Regions from separate parts of the Homo sapiens genome. Here region 2 is linked to region 1. Evidence: promoter capture Hi-C in human tissues and cell types (Jung and others, 2019). All regions are on one chromosome and are shown on one strand. Each heading gives the region's core, a stretch centred on a gene start or on the middle of the fragment in contact. The rest is flanking DNA. Distances are from core to core; before and after follow the strand shown.

The links. The method cuts DNA at HindIII sites, captures the fragments that hold promoters and counts their contacts. A contact is called where the count stands out against the background at its distance.
Region 2: a fragment that was not itself captured here is called in contact with the fragment with the promoter of ZNF852 in region 1 in 1 of the 25 tissues and cell types used here (pancreas).

Annotation. Positions count from the first base shown.
Region 1 is chr3:44,507,899-44,514,397 of GRCh38, reverse strand. ZNF852 (zinc finger protein 852) reads left to right here and starts at 3,781. Exons shown (of 4, transcript NM_001423469.1): 1 at 3,781-3,845. RefSeq lists enhancers at 3,327-3,386, 2,845-3,621, 3,622-4,398 and silencers at 3,607-3,656, 3,787-3,846, 3,857-4,016. The HindIII fragment of the contact is 21,843 bases long and covers 1-6,499 here.
Region 2 is chr3:44,466,214-44,472,712 of GRCh38, reverse strand. All of the region lies in intron 1 of ZNF445 (zinc finger protein 445), which reads left to right. Among named protein-coding and RNA genes, the nearest start is that of ZNF445, 8.2 kb to the left of the region's middle. The HindIII fragment of the contact is 4,733 bases long and covers 695-5,427 here.

The DNA.
Region 1 (6,499 bases), core at 2,532-5,031:
AGATACTATGCGCACACTTCACAGGAGTCCCTCGTTTACACCAGTCATGGTGTTCAGCAGGGAGATGCCTCACCCCTGTGACTACCCAGCCATTTGATTTCTGTCTATTGTCTGCAGTCTGTCTCCTGATTTGGAAGGAACAGTTGAGGCATTCTGACTCTGTATTTAACTGTTCTCTGCCACCGTCCGCTGATTGATGACTATACATAAAGTGTCAACTGGATACTCAATGGTACACATCTTCCTACTAACAACTCCCCTAGTGCTTTCATCTTGCCTTTTATAAGTCTGCATCCAACTTGTTACACTCTAACACCCCAACAGAACAACTATGGTTTCTGTATCTCCCTGCTTCTCTGCACCCACTTCCTCCACTAACATCCTAGCGGCCAGGCCATACAAGACAAACTATTTTCTGCTGGTCTTGACATTAAGGTAACCAGAGCCAGGCCATGTGGGAGATCATAAGCACAGGACACATCCAGCTCTCCTTTTAGCAAGCAACCCATTCATCTCCAACCCACTCAGAGAACAATGACATAGGCTTGTTGAGAATAAAAGAGGCCCTTAACCCCATGGCCCTCTGACACCAGCTGTCCCCACCTTGTCAATCCACCTCATCTTTCTGACAGCAAGGCCAATCCTGAATCGTTCATATGGTCCAGCAACTAAAGGGTTAATTGGGTGATTGGGGGAGGGGCTAAAGGAGCTGTTTTTCCACCTTGTCTCCTTCTACCTATGAGGAGGGGCTGCAGGAAGGGAAAGAAATTGACCTCCTCAACGACTTCCTTCCAGTTCACAGACAGAACTGTTTCAGTTCTGTTACCTAGGTCTCTTTTCTTCTCAGGGATGATATTTAAAAGATTAACAACCAGTGGCTGGGCGCCATGGCTCACTCCTGTAATCCCAGCACTTTGGGAGTCCTAGGCAGGTGGATCACCTGAGGTCAAGAGTTCAAGACCAGCCTGGGCAACATGGCAAAACCCCATCTCTACCAAAAAAAAAAAAAAAAAACTTATCCGGGTGTGGTGGTGTGCGCCTGTAGTCCCAGCTACTCAGGAGGCTGAGGTGGGATGATGGCCTGAGCCCAGCAGGTGGAGGTTGCAGTGAGCTGAGATCCTACCACTCACTGCACTCCTGCCTGGGCGATAGAGCCAGACTTTGTCTCAAAAATAAATAAATAAGCCGGGCACAGTGGCTCATCTTGTAATCCCAGCACTTCGGGAGGCAGAGGCAGGCGGATCACCTGAGGTCAGGAGTTCAACACAAGCCTGGTCAAGATGGTGAAACCCCATCTCTACTAAAAATACAAAAATTAGCCAGGCATGGTGGCACATGCCTGTAATCCCTGCTACTCAGGAGGCTGAGGCAGGAGAATCGCTTGAACCCGGGAGGCGGAGGCTGCAGTGAGCCAAGATCGCGCCACTGCACTACAGCCTGGGTGACAGAGTGAGACTCCATCTCAAAATAAATAAATAAATAAATAATTATAAATAAGGCTGGGCGCTGTGGCTCACACCTGTAATCCTAGCACTTGTGGGAGGCCGAGGTGGGCAGATCACCTGAGGTCAGGAGTTCGAGATCAGCCTGGCAGACATGACAAATCCTGGCTCTACTAAAAATGCAAAAATTAGCTGGGGATGGTGGCCTGTGTCTGTGGTCCCAATTACTGGGTGGCTGAGGCAGGAGAATCACTTGAACCCAGGAGGGGAGGCGGAGGTTGCAGTGAGCCGAGATCACACCACTGCCCTCCAGCCTGGGTGACAGAGGGAGGCTCCGTCTCAAAATAAATAAATAAATAAATGAAGGAATTCCTAATGCTAAATGCCACATAATCAAACTGAAATTTTATAGAAGTATGTGAATCCCCTAACAGACCAGTTTTTCCTGCAAACAGGAGATTCATAGCAACCATTCAGAAAGGGCCCAGTTAACCCCAGTCAGCATAAGGAAGGCCCCCTCTGCTTTAATCCTTAAAAGAAAAGTAACCTGATGTTAATCAATCTATTTTTGCTATTGTTTGGTTCTCTTGTTCCCACCTTTAAAAACCCACTGTTCTGCCACATGCTGTTAGTCTACTTTATAGAAGTTTTTACTATTTTGTACCTGCTTCTCCAACTCATAATGTTACACAGCCTCTCCAGGTTGTAGCCCAAGAAGCAGCCTGCTCTTTCTCGTTCTCTCTCTTTCTTCCTTCTCTCTTTCATTCCTTTTCTCTCTTTCTCACTTCCCTCCCTCCCTTCCTCCCTTCCTTCCTTGGGTCTCGCTCTGTCGCCCAAGCTGGAGTACACTGCCCCAATCATAGCTCACTGCAGCCTCGACCTCCCCGGCCCAAGCGATCCTTCCGCCTCTGCCTCCACAGTAGCTAGGACTACAGGCGTGCACCACCAAGCTCAGCTAATGCTCTTTCTGGTCTGAGTTTTGACCCTCATCCTAACCTGTTGTTCTTTGAGTACACTCTGGGCCTTGATGCGTTGGGTCATTCCTGCTTTCCCAGGTGGTAACCGTTCCTGGGCAGGGATTTTAGTTTTCCTTGGAATCTTGCCCTCCTCACTATCCTGCCCACAACCTTCTACCCCTAGCTTCTGGGATCTCAGCTAGGAGCCATGCTATCCCCAACTCTCCCTCTACAGGGACGTGGGACGGGAGAGCTTTTATGAAGCACAGTAGTGAAAAGACCAAAAGATTTGGATTCAGTGGCTATTCCAGTTACTGACTCTATTTCCTTGGGCAACTCAAATCAATGCATGGCAGCCAGTGTGTTATGAGCTACCGGAAGTATACAGAAAAGTACCAGAAAAAATACAAGCATTATCATCAGTCGCTGTCAATTAAATAACTCTGTTACATTTCAACAGTGTTCGTAACCACTTGACATTGATGTATTTGTGTAATTTCTATTATCTGTTTTTCCCACAAAGCTGTAGCTCCATCCAAAGTGGGCAACTGAGTGTCTTGGTCAGTCATGTGCAGCCTGATGACCCTTGAACAGTTGCAAAAGTGCGCCTAGGGCTTGTAGCATTTACTTAAAAGGGGATAATAAACTCTCACGGCCAGTGCTGGGCTTATTGCCTTGTTTGGGAATTTCTCCATTCAAGGGTTTTATGTTTGGGGATGTGCTGGCCCTATTTTTTTGTTTGTTTGTTTTTTGAGACGGAGTCTGGCTCTGTCTCCCAGGCTGGAGTGCAGTGGCACGATCTCGGCTCACTGCAACCTCCGCCTCCCAGGTTCAAACGATTCTCCTGCCTCAGCCGCCGAAGTAGCTGCGATTACAGGCGCCGCGCCACCACACCCAGCTACTTTTTTTTTATTTTTAGTAGACACGGGGTTTCACCGTGTTAGCCACCGATCTCCTGACCTCGTGATCCGCCCACCTCGGCTTCCCAAAGTTCTGGGATTACAGGCGTGAGCCACCGCGCCAGGCCGCTGGCTCTATTTTCACCGCTAGCTTTGGATCCCTTTCTTCCCTGAAGGAAAAGAGGCCTCCAGGGCAGCCGTGCAGAACCGATGGGAGGGATGTAGGATAATACGCCAAAGCCGATAGAGTTCTGGAGCGCGCCTGGGCATCAGAGCGTGGAAGACAAGTGTCCGCGGAAGGAGGCGAAGGATGCTGGACAAGCCCCGCCGCCCGCCGCCCGCCGCCCGCCGCCCGCCGCCCGCCGCCCGCCGCCAGCGGCCCTGGGCCCAGGGAGAAGCAGAGATGTTGGCCCTCCCAGTTTCCTAGAGAGGCCGCAGAGGGCCCGGGGAGGCGACGCGCGTGCGCAACTGGGGAAGCTGGGAGGTAGGCGCGGGGCGGTCGGCTGCGGTGGCGGCGTTTGGATGATTGTCTCTCGGCGGCGGAGTCGGTGAGCGGCCCGGCGGGGCGCGGGGTGCGGAGCGGGGGCGGCTGTGCGTGCGAGAGTGGCAGGTGAGGCCGGGCCTGGAGGCTGCACCCGGGGCGGGGGTCTGGCCGTGGATCCCGCCCGGCCGCGCCGAGGGCATACCTCTTCGCCCCCCGGGCGTCTGGGGCAGAGAATCTGGAAAATTCCCGGTTTCTTCTGGCTTTATCTTTTCACCCAATTATGCGAATAAAGCGTACTTATTAGAGACAATTAGATAAGTGGAAGAAAAGTGAAAGTAGCCACCGTCCGGAAATCTTAGTCTCCAGGTCTCCTGACATTGAAAACATCTGGCATAGACTTCTCCCTTTTTCTTGTCTTATTTCACTTCCTGGCACCTGTCGCCGTCTAACATAGCATGTATTTGTTTATTGGTTATCTTCCCATAAGCCCCTTGCCAGGGCAGTGCTTTCTGTTTGCTTTATTAACTGCTGTTACCTTAGTGTATGGGAAATAGTAGGTGCTCCTAGAAGGTGTTTGTTAAATTAATGAAAGAAGGAATATCTAAACTGGGAGACAAGAAGAATTGACAGTTTTTAATGTCTTTTTTTTTTTTTTAAATAGCCCATTGCCAAGTTAAGAATGTAAGAGTGACCTTGAGCCTGGAACATTTCCTTGCAGAGTTAGAGCCCTCACAGCCTGTGCTGCTGCATTTAATGCCTTGTGTCTTTCAGTGTTTCAGGCTTCATGTGTACTCCTTTGTTGTGTTTAATCTCTTAAGTCAGTGGCCTTCATTCATTCTCTCAGCCTTCTGTATTTCACACCCCATAGGAGTGGGGAGGGTGGATTGAGATCTTTCTTCCTTACTAAGTGGGGTGTGTGCATCACACCAGCCCTATAGCTGTGGAGTGGATCTGCTGGGTGTGGGGGCTCTTTGCATTGCAGGAGGCTGGATCTTGTTCCCTGTTTCTCCTTTTGCTGTAAGTATACGCTGTACCTCTTGGGGCCTGATGTGGTTGGTATCTGTCCTCAGCGACCTCAAATCATGTGCTATCCCTTCCTTGGATGGCCTTTTAATCTTGGCAGCACAGCCTGGCCACCTGGTGAATAGTGGAACAGTCATGGTGATGCATAAGGATCTAGTATGTTCCTTTTAGGTGCTGTATGGTATTTCATCCTATAAAAATGCTACTTTTATTTAGCCATATTGATGGACAAGTAGGTTAAATCCAGTATTATGTTATTACAGAGAATATTTTAGTAAATACCTGTGTAAATGTCTGAATACCCGTGCAAGTGTTTTTCAGGGCAGATTCTTACAAGTTAAATTCCTGTAGCGTAAGGAATATGTCTTTTTAGTTTTACTGTGGACTTTCAAACTATCCTTCCTGTTGGCTATTACATTTCCACATCTATTAGTGGTTTGTGTTTGGTGTTTTTTTCTTTTGCTTTTCTTTTGGACAGAGATTTTTTTCATATTGATGTATTCAAATATATTCACTCTTTTCATTTTGTTGTCTTAAGAAATTCTTGGTTACACCAGGGTTCTTAGAGTCTTTATGGTTTTTTTCTTTTTTTTTTTTGAGACAGAGTCTCACTCTGTGTCACCCAGGCTGGAGTGCAGTGGCACAATCTTGGATCACTGCAGCCTCTGCCTCCTGGGTTCAAGCAATTCTCTGCCTCAGCCTCCCGAGTATCTGAGATTACAGGCGCCTGCCACCACATCTGGCTTTTTTTTTTTTTAAAGTAGAGATGGGATTTCACCATCTTGGTTAGGTTGGTCTTGAACTCCTGACCTTGTGATCCACCCACCTTGGCCTCCCAAAGAGCTGGGATTACAGGCGTGAGCCACCGCACCCAGCCTTTTAGCTTTGTTTTTTAAGTTTCTTTATTTTTTGTGTGATTTTACTTACTATTTTTATTTGCCTAGCCAATTGTCCCAACACAATTCATTGACTAGTTTAATTTTTCCCACTGACTTGTAATGCTACTGTTACCAACTCTCAAGGGAAGTCGTTTGACTTCAGTGGGTCCTTTACCTGCCTGGTGGTGTTCATGCCAATAAAATGAGACCAAGTTTCGTTAAGCAGTGCAGAAACTTTATTTGTTGATGAAGGAATGGAGAAGGAAAAGCTCATGCTCAAAGTACCCTCCTCTGGGTGTGGTGAAGAGGGATTTTTAAGGTCTCTTAGGGCATGTAGTGGGGCAGAGATCCTGGAAAGAGGTGGGGCCCTATGGGAAGAACTGGAGTGTGCTCAGTCTCATTCTTTTTTCTTTCTTTCTTTCTTTTTTTTTCTTTTGCGATGGAGTTTTGCTCTTGTTGCCCAGGCTGGAGTGCAATGGCTTGATCTTGGCTCACCGCAACCTCCGCCTCCCAGGTTCAAGCAGTTCTCCTGTCTCAGCCCCCCAAATAGCTGGGATTACAGGCATGTACCACATGCCTGGCTAATTTAGTATTTTTAATAGAGACGGGGTTTCTCCATGTTGGTCAGGAGGGTCTTGAACTCCTGACCTCAGGTGATCCACCCGCCTTGGCCTCCCAAAGTGCTGGGATTACAGACGTGAGCCACCGCGCCTGGCCAGTCTCATTGTTTCTTTTGTACCCAGCACTATATGTGCCTAGCAAGTGTATTTCTCCCTTCTAGGTGGAGATTTTAATATGGTAATGAAGCAAGGATTCA
Region 2 (6,499 bases), core at 1,812-4,311, 41 kb after region 1:
TGCTGAGGTAGCTGTATGTTCACTATGCTCTGGGTCTTTCATTCAGAGTTTGAGAGGCCCGTGAGGTCTTTATTCATGTTCATGATTGCAGAGGCTGAGCTAACCTTTCTTTGACTCAAGGACTGGAATCCTCACTATATTCACAGGCATTCGCCCTGAATTTTCTGTCAGTCTTCTCATCACCTCTTTACAAATACATTACTGCCAGGCAAGGTGGCATGCGCCTGTAATCCCAGCTACTCAGAAGGCTGAGGCAGAAGAATTGTGTGAGCCCAGGAGTTCAAGACCAGCATGGGCAATATAGTGAAACCCTTGTTCCCCCGTCCTCCTCCAAAAATCTGGAAGTTAGCTGTTGTAGGGGGGAAAAAAAAGTCACTGACCCTTTTGGACATTTGTGCAGCAGCTGCTTCAGAACAGTCCTGCTTGGAGACTTATTTTTGGAGCTAATTTGACTGTAGGTGTCAATTTCCTGAGATTGGTCAGTGCCATTTATATTTTTCACTGGGTACATTTCTTAAAAGTGTTTCTCTCTGGCCTCAATTTCTTTCTCTTTAACTTAATTGCCAGATTTATCTTCATCTTTAGCAGCATTTTGGTTCTTTTCATACTTTGGTTTTCTTTCTCTTCTGTCTGTTCTGCAAGTTTGGCCATGAAAGTCTCTCTTCTTTTTCTGTTTTTCAGCTTTCTCCTGATCAGGTGTTTCTCCTTCCCTTTTGTGCTGCTGGCACGCACCGAGGCTGGAGCCTGCTCCTCTTGGTCCTGAAGCTCCCACTGCTTCTCAGTCTTCGAGTCTCCTTTTATAGGCCTTCATTTATTTACTTTATTTCTTCTTTCATTTTCCCTTTTTTTTTTCCTTTGAATACTTATTCTTACTCCACTCCCCTTTTTCACAGCAAGGCTTCAGTTCTCTGCCAGAACTGTAGCAGCTTCCTCAGCATGTGTGATCCCTAATGTAGCTCTTTTCTTGCCTCTTCTTGGCCCATAGAGTAGGGCTGTAGTTTCTTTTTTATCCCTGGATGATTGCATGCCTTCTAGTGTGAGTCTTCTTTACATCTTAGTTTACTGTCATTTCTTTTGACAGTATTAGCAGCACTTGCTGAGAGCAGAGGACATTGGATAGGTATTAGTTCAGAGCAAATGTAGAAGGTGGTGGCTCTTTTAATTTCATAAGTGTCACTCCTTTTACATTTGCTTCACAGTGGTGGGAGATGGAAGGGGTCAGCATTTTCAGGGGATATGACCTTCATCTGTGACTTTGTGCACAGGGTAGTGGGGCCACTTTGCAACAAGTTCTGAGACCTGTTGTCCATCTCACACTTTTTGTAGACACTCCAGTTCTTCTCTCATGAGTCTTTAGTTTGTCAGTTCAGTGGCTATTTATGGGCATATTTGGATCCTGGAGTAGATTGATGGCTGTTACTGATGGATCTTTTCCACCAATAATGTCTGGGTACTTTTACTTCTAGATAAAGAAGCTTTTAGGGACAAGAAGATACTGATGAGATTGCTCTCTAGACTGAACCAAGAGTCATATTAGAGAAATTCTGGATGCAGGTGATCTGTACAGAGTCAGCTGATCCTGTGTCTGTGGAACATTAATGGCAGCACTGCTTGTATTTCTCTTTTTCTTCAACTTTTATTTTTTTTCTTCCATTGTTGCTGGCTACTCCTTTTCTTTGTTTCTGTTTTCTTTCTGGATAGGTTTTTTATTTTTGTTTTGCATGTTGTGTTTTGGTAGCATTTTGCTCTTCTTGTTCTCTACCTCACTTGCCTGTTTTTTTTTCTCCTTACATCTGTTCAACTGGAGAACATCCTTTTGTAGTTGCTTGAGCTGAAGCCATGGTTTGTACTCAAGTCCCCCCTCAAGAATGTGCTGTCCCTTCTACTGTGCATCTGCCATCTTCAATCCTACGAGTTGCTACTCAATTGCTTTGCTTCTTAAGAGAATTATTGATCACTTTGCTGTTTATAAATGTAATGGGTAACAATTTAGGCAACATAGGCAAATAAGGAAGGAGAGCCCTTTCATCCCACCTCCCAGAGGAAATCATGGCTAAAAATACTTTGGTAGTGAGGCTTAGGAGCTTTTATGTGCATATGTAAACTGCTTTGCTTTTCATTTGCTTTAAGACATAAATGACAGTATAACTATGCTTTCTAATAATTGCTTTTCAATTTTCTTTTCTTTTAGGAAATAGAAGACAAAAAAAATATAAAGTTGCTTTTAAATGCAATTCTCTACCTTCCTACCCCCACCACCAGTAAGAGTTTTTGTGAATCCTTCCAGGCTTTTAAAATTTCTTTGAGTAGTTATAGGTACATTCACATACATGCGTATACAGTCACACACACACACGGTTGTACGTTTTGTTTTCACAATTCGTATTTAGGATGTGCTTTCAAACTTAGCACATATTTTTGTTATTGTTGGGAAAAGCAGTCGTGCACAGTTTCTCTCTCCTTACTTGGCTGTGTAGGAGTGTCCTTGGACGCCAGGCATTGTGGCTCATGCCTGTAATCCCAGTGCTTTGGGAGGCCAAGTCAGGAGGCTCTCTTGAAGCCAGGAGTTTGAGACTGGCCTGGGCAACATAGTGAGACCCTATCGCTAAAAAAAAGTCAGGCAGAGTGAGGGTGGCACATGTCTGTAGTCTCAGCTATTCAGGAGGTTGAGGTGGGAGGATCACTTGAACCCAGGAGTTTGAGGCTGCAGTGAGCTGTGATCGTGCTACTGCACTCCAGCCTGGATGACAGAGTGAGAAAAAAGAGTGGCCTCGGGCCTGAGACATTTCCTTACAAGAGCGAAAGAGTCCTCACAACCTTTGCTGGGTTTAACATCTTGTGACTGTAGGTGTCACATCTTGTGAGGGACTATCTTGTTTTTCTGCACTTGATGTACTCCTTTGTTTTGTTTGTTTTGTTTTGTTTTGTTTTTGTTTTTGTTTTTGAGATGGAGTTTTGCTTTGTCACCCAGGCTGGAGTGCAGTGGCACGATCTTGGCTCACTGCAACCTCTGCCTCCTGGGTTCAAGTGGTTCTCCTGCCTCAGCCTCCTGAGTAGCTGGGATTACAGCTGTACGTCTCCACGCCTGGCTAATTTTTGTATTTTTAATAGAGATGGGGTTTCGCCATGTTTGCCAGGCTGTTCTCAAACTCCTGACCTCAGGTAATGTGCCAGCCTTAGCCTCCCAAAGTGCTGGGATTACAGGTGCAAGCCACCATGCCAGGCCTCCTTTGTTCTGTTTCTGAGTGCATGAATCAGCAGCCGTCATGCATGTTCCTATCTTTCTTCATTTCAGACCCCACAGAGGAGGGGTTAAGGTCTTTCTACTGCAATATGAAGCGTGTATACACACACCACCTGTGTAGACTGTGGAGTGGTTCTGCTGGCCACGAGGGACCAACACATTGCAAGTGGCTGGATCTTGTGAACCCTCCATCTCCATAAGTAAACATTGTACCTCTTGAGCTTGGTGGGGGTGGTGTCTTTTCTCAGTGACCTCAAGTCATACACTGTCTCTTCCTTGGGTGACACCTAGTTGCCTTGTAACTTTGGCTACAGAGCCTTATCACCTGGTGTACAGTAAAGCAGTTATGTTGATGTATAACAATTCTAGTACATTCCTTTTAGGTGTGTGAGTATTTCATCCTATAAAATGCTTTTTTTTTTTTTTTTTGAGACAGACTCTCACTATCCTCCCAAAATACTGGAATTACAGGCATGAGTCACTGCACCTGGCCAAATGCTACACTTTTATAACCTCCCAAGAGGTTCACCTTGCCTGCTGCCTAGACAGAGCTGATTCAAGATGGGAATTGCAATAGAGAAAGAGTAATTCACGCAGAGCCGGCTGTGTGGGAGACTGGGGTTTTATTATTACTCAAAGCAGTCTCCCCCAGCATTTGCGGAGCAAAGTTTTTAAGGATAACTTGGTGGGTTGGGGGAAGCCAGTGAGCCAGGAGTGCTGATTGGTCAGAGATGAAATCATAGCGAGTCACAGCTGTCGTCTTGTGCTGAGTCAGCTCCTCGGGGGGAGGGGGTGGAGGGGTGGGGGCGGGCCACAAGATCAGATGAGCCAGTTTATTGATCTGGGTTGTGCCAGCTAATCCATCAAGTGCAGGGGCTGCAAAATACCTCAAGCACTGATCTTAGGAGCAGTTTAGGGAGGGTCAGAATCTTGTAACCTCCAGCTGCATGACTCCTAAACCATAATTTCTAATCTTGTGGCTAATGTTAGTCCCGCAAAGGCAATCTAGTCTCCAGGCAAGAAGGAGATCTGCTTTGGGAAAGATCTGTTACTGTCTTTATTTAAACTATAAACTGTAAGTTTCTCCCAAAGTTAGTTCAGCCTGTGCCCAGGAATGAACAAGGACAGCTTGGAGGTTAGAAGCAAGATGGAGTTAGTTAAGTTAGATCTCTTTCACTGTCTCAGTCATAATTTTGCAATGACAGTTTCAGTCCCTCCCTTTGGATTTTATAACACCTTAATAAGGTGTAAGTTATGAAGGTGGGAAAAGGCTGTTGATTGCTCTGGCTTCTTCCTCCTGACAGGGGACATAGTGGGAATGGGAGTGAACCCCAGCGTGAGAAGAGTGGAACTGCTTTGCAACTGTCTGAGTGTACTCACGCAGGCTTGGCCAGGCGTTCATGGCTTGCATGGCTAGAACATTAGTATTTTCATCTGTAATTTTACTGCAGTATTTAAGTGAAACAGCCTACTATAAGGTAAATAATGAGTCCTAGGATGAGGAGTACAATTCCCAATTTTAAAAGCAAAGATTTGAAAGTATTAGTTTGGGGACTTCTAACCCACAAAGAATTTAGAATTTTGTTTAAACTGCAGAAAAAAACCCTCAAGAACAGCTACAATATTGTACTATAGTTTTTCTTTTGAAGCATAATTTTCTCTCTCCAATCCCCATTTTTATTAAAAACAAATCATGATAGGACTGATTTGTTTACAAAATAAACTTTAGCCTTACTGTGCTTGGCCTGATTATTTGCATAAAGTGCAGCAAGAATAATTATTTTTCACTTAGGCTTTTTAAGTTGGTTTTGATAGAACTCTGTTCCATGAAGAATCTCAGATAAGACTTTTTAAAAGCTGAGCCCAGCTGTGGATTTGTACTCTCAAATACCTATGAGTTGGGCAAATTTCTCTCCTCTTGAGGTCCCAAGATAACTTGGGGTTCCTGGGCCTGTTAGCAAGTGACATTCTTTACTTACCACGGGTTGTCAGGAAGCTTGTACAGAGACTCTGTGTGGACAAGGTATGAGGCCAGATTCCCCAACAGGCTTTAATTGGCTCTATAAGTCAACTTTGATTCTTTAAAGGAAGCATGATTTCTCCAGCTGTGTCCTGTTACAAAAGAAAACAGATTCTTATTGCACTAAAGCAATGAACTATACTGCCATAAATTGAGAATATTCACATATAGTTTCCAAATTCTGGATAAATCAGGTAGAAAGGAACAAATATGCTCCAAATTTTGTTCACAGGATTATATTTTACTTGTTAAAAGTTGCAAATAGCTCTAAAGAAATAAGTTCTCTTAACTCTGAAAACAAAACGTTTAGCAATGTTTAACACATTAGCTTTCCGTGAGAGTCCTAGAAGCTTGTTTTATTCTCTATTCCAATAGCACAATTTTTAAAGTTATCTGAGACTGGCACTTAGAGTCCTATATCTGATTATAAACTGCCTTTTGAAAAGGACCAAAGCAAGACAAAATACCTGTGGATGACAAAAATGTATAGCCACTATGAAAGCTACAATTGACTAGGAATTTTGGTTACTTCTGTGGCATACAGCAATTTTACATAACAATTATAATAATGTACACTAAATTATGTCAACATTATAGAAGTTTCCCATAATTTTGGAACACATACTGATAACATATTTAAACAAATACAGTCCAAAGTAAACCAAACACCATTCATCTATTTGAAAGTGTTTATTCTAATGTTACAATCTCCAGAGTTAATTAATCAGAATCCTGCATTTAAGAGCACCTGTTAAATTTTATACCTGCTTATAAAACCATCTTTTAAAGAGGACCAAAATGAGACAATTGTCCGTGGATGACAAAAGCATTTTAGGGCAGCCACAGTTAAAGACACGATTGACAAGGAAATTTGCCACCTCCATGGCATACAGTGTGTTAACATAATTATAATTATTACTGATAACATATACTGAGTCATATTAGAATTATAAGGGTTTTACATAATTTCATAACATATACTAATAACACATTTACACAAATGTAGACCAAAGAAAGCCAAACACCATTTCATATTTGACAATGCTTCCTGTATGATTTTTGCACCAAATAAGCCAAATGTCATTTTTGGACTTTAGAGGACCTAATATCTAAAATATTAGGTTAGAAAGAGACATAATTTATAATTTGATTTTGGAAAGTTTGTCAAGTAGCAAAGGTTTAAAACACTGGATATCACAAAATAGAATCCCAGGTCACCATAAATCATTCTTTGG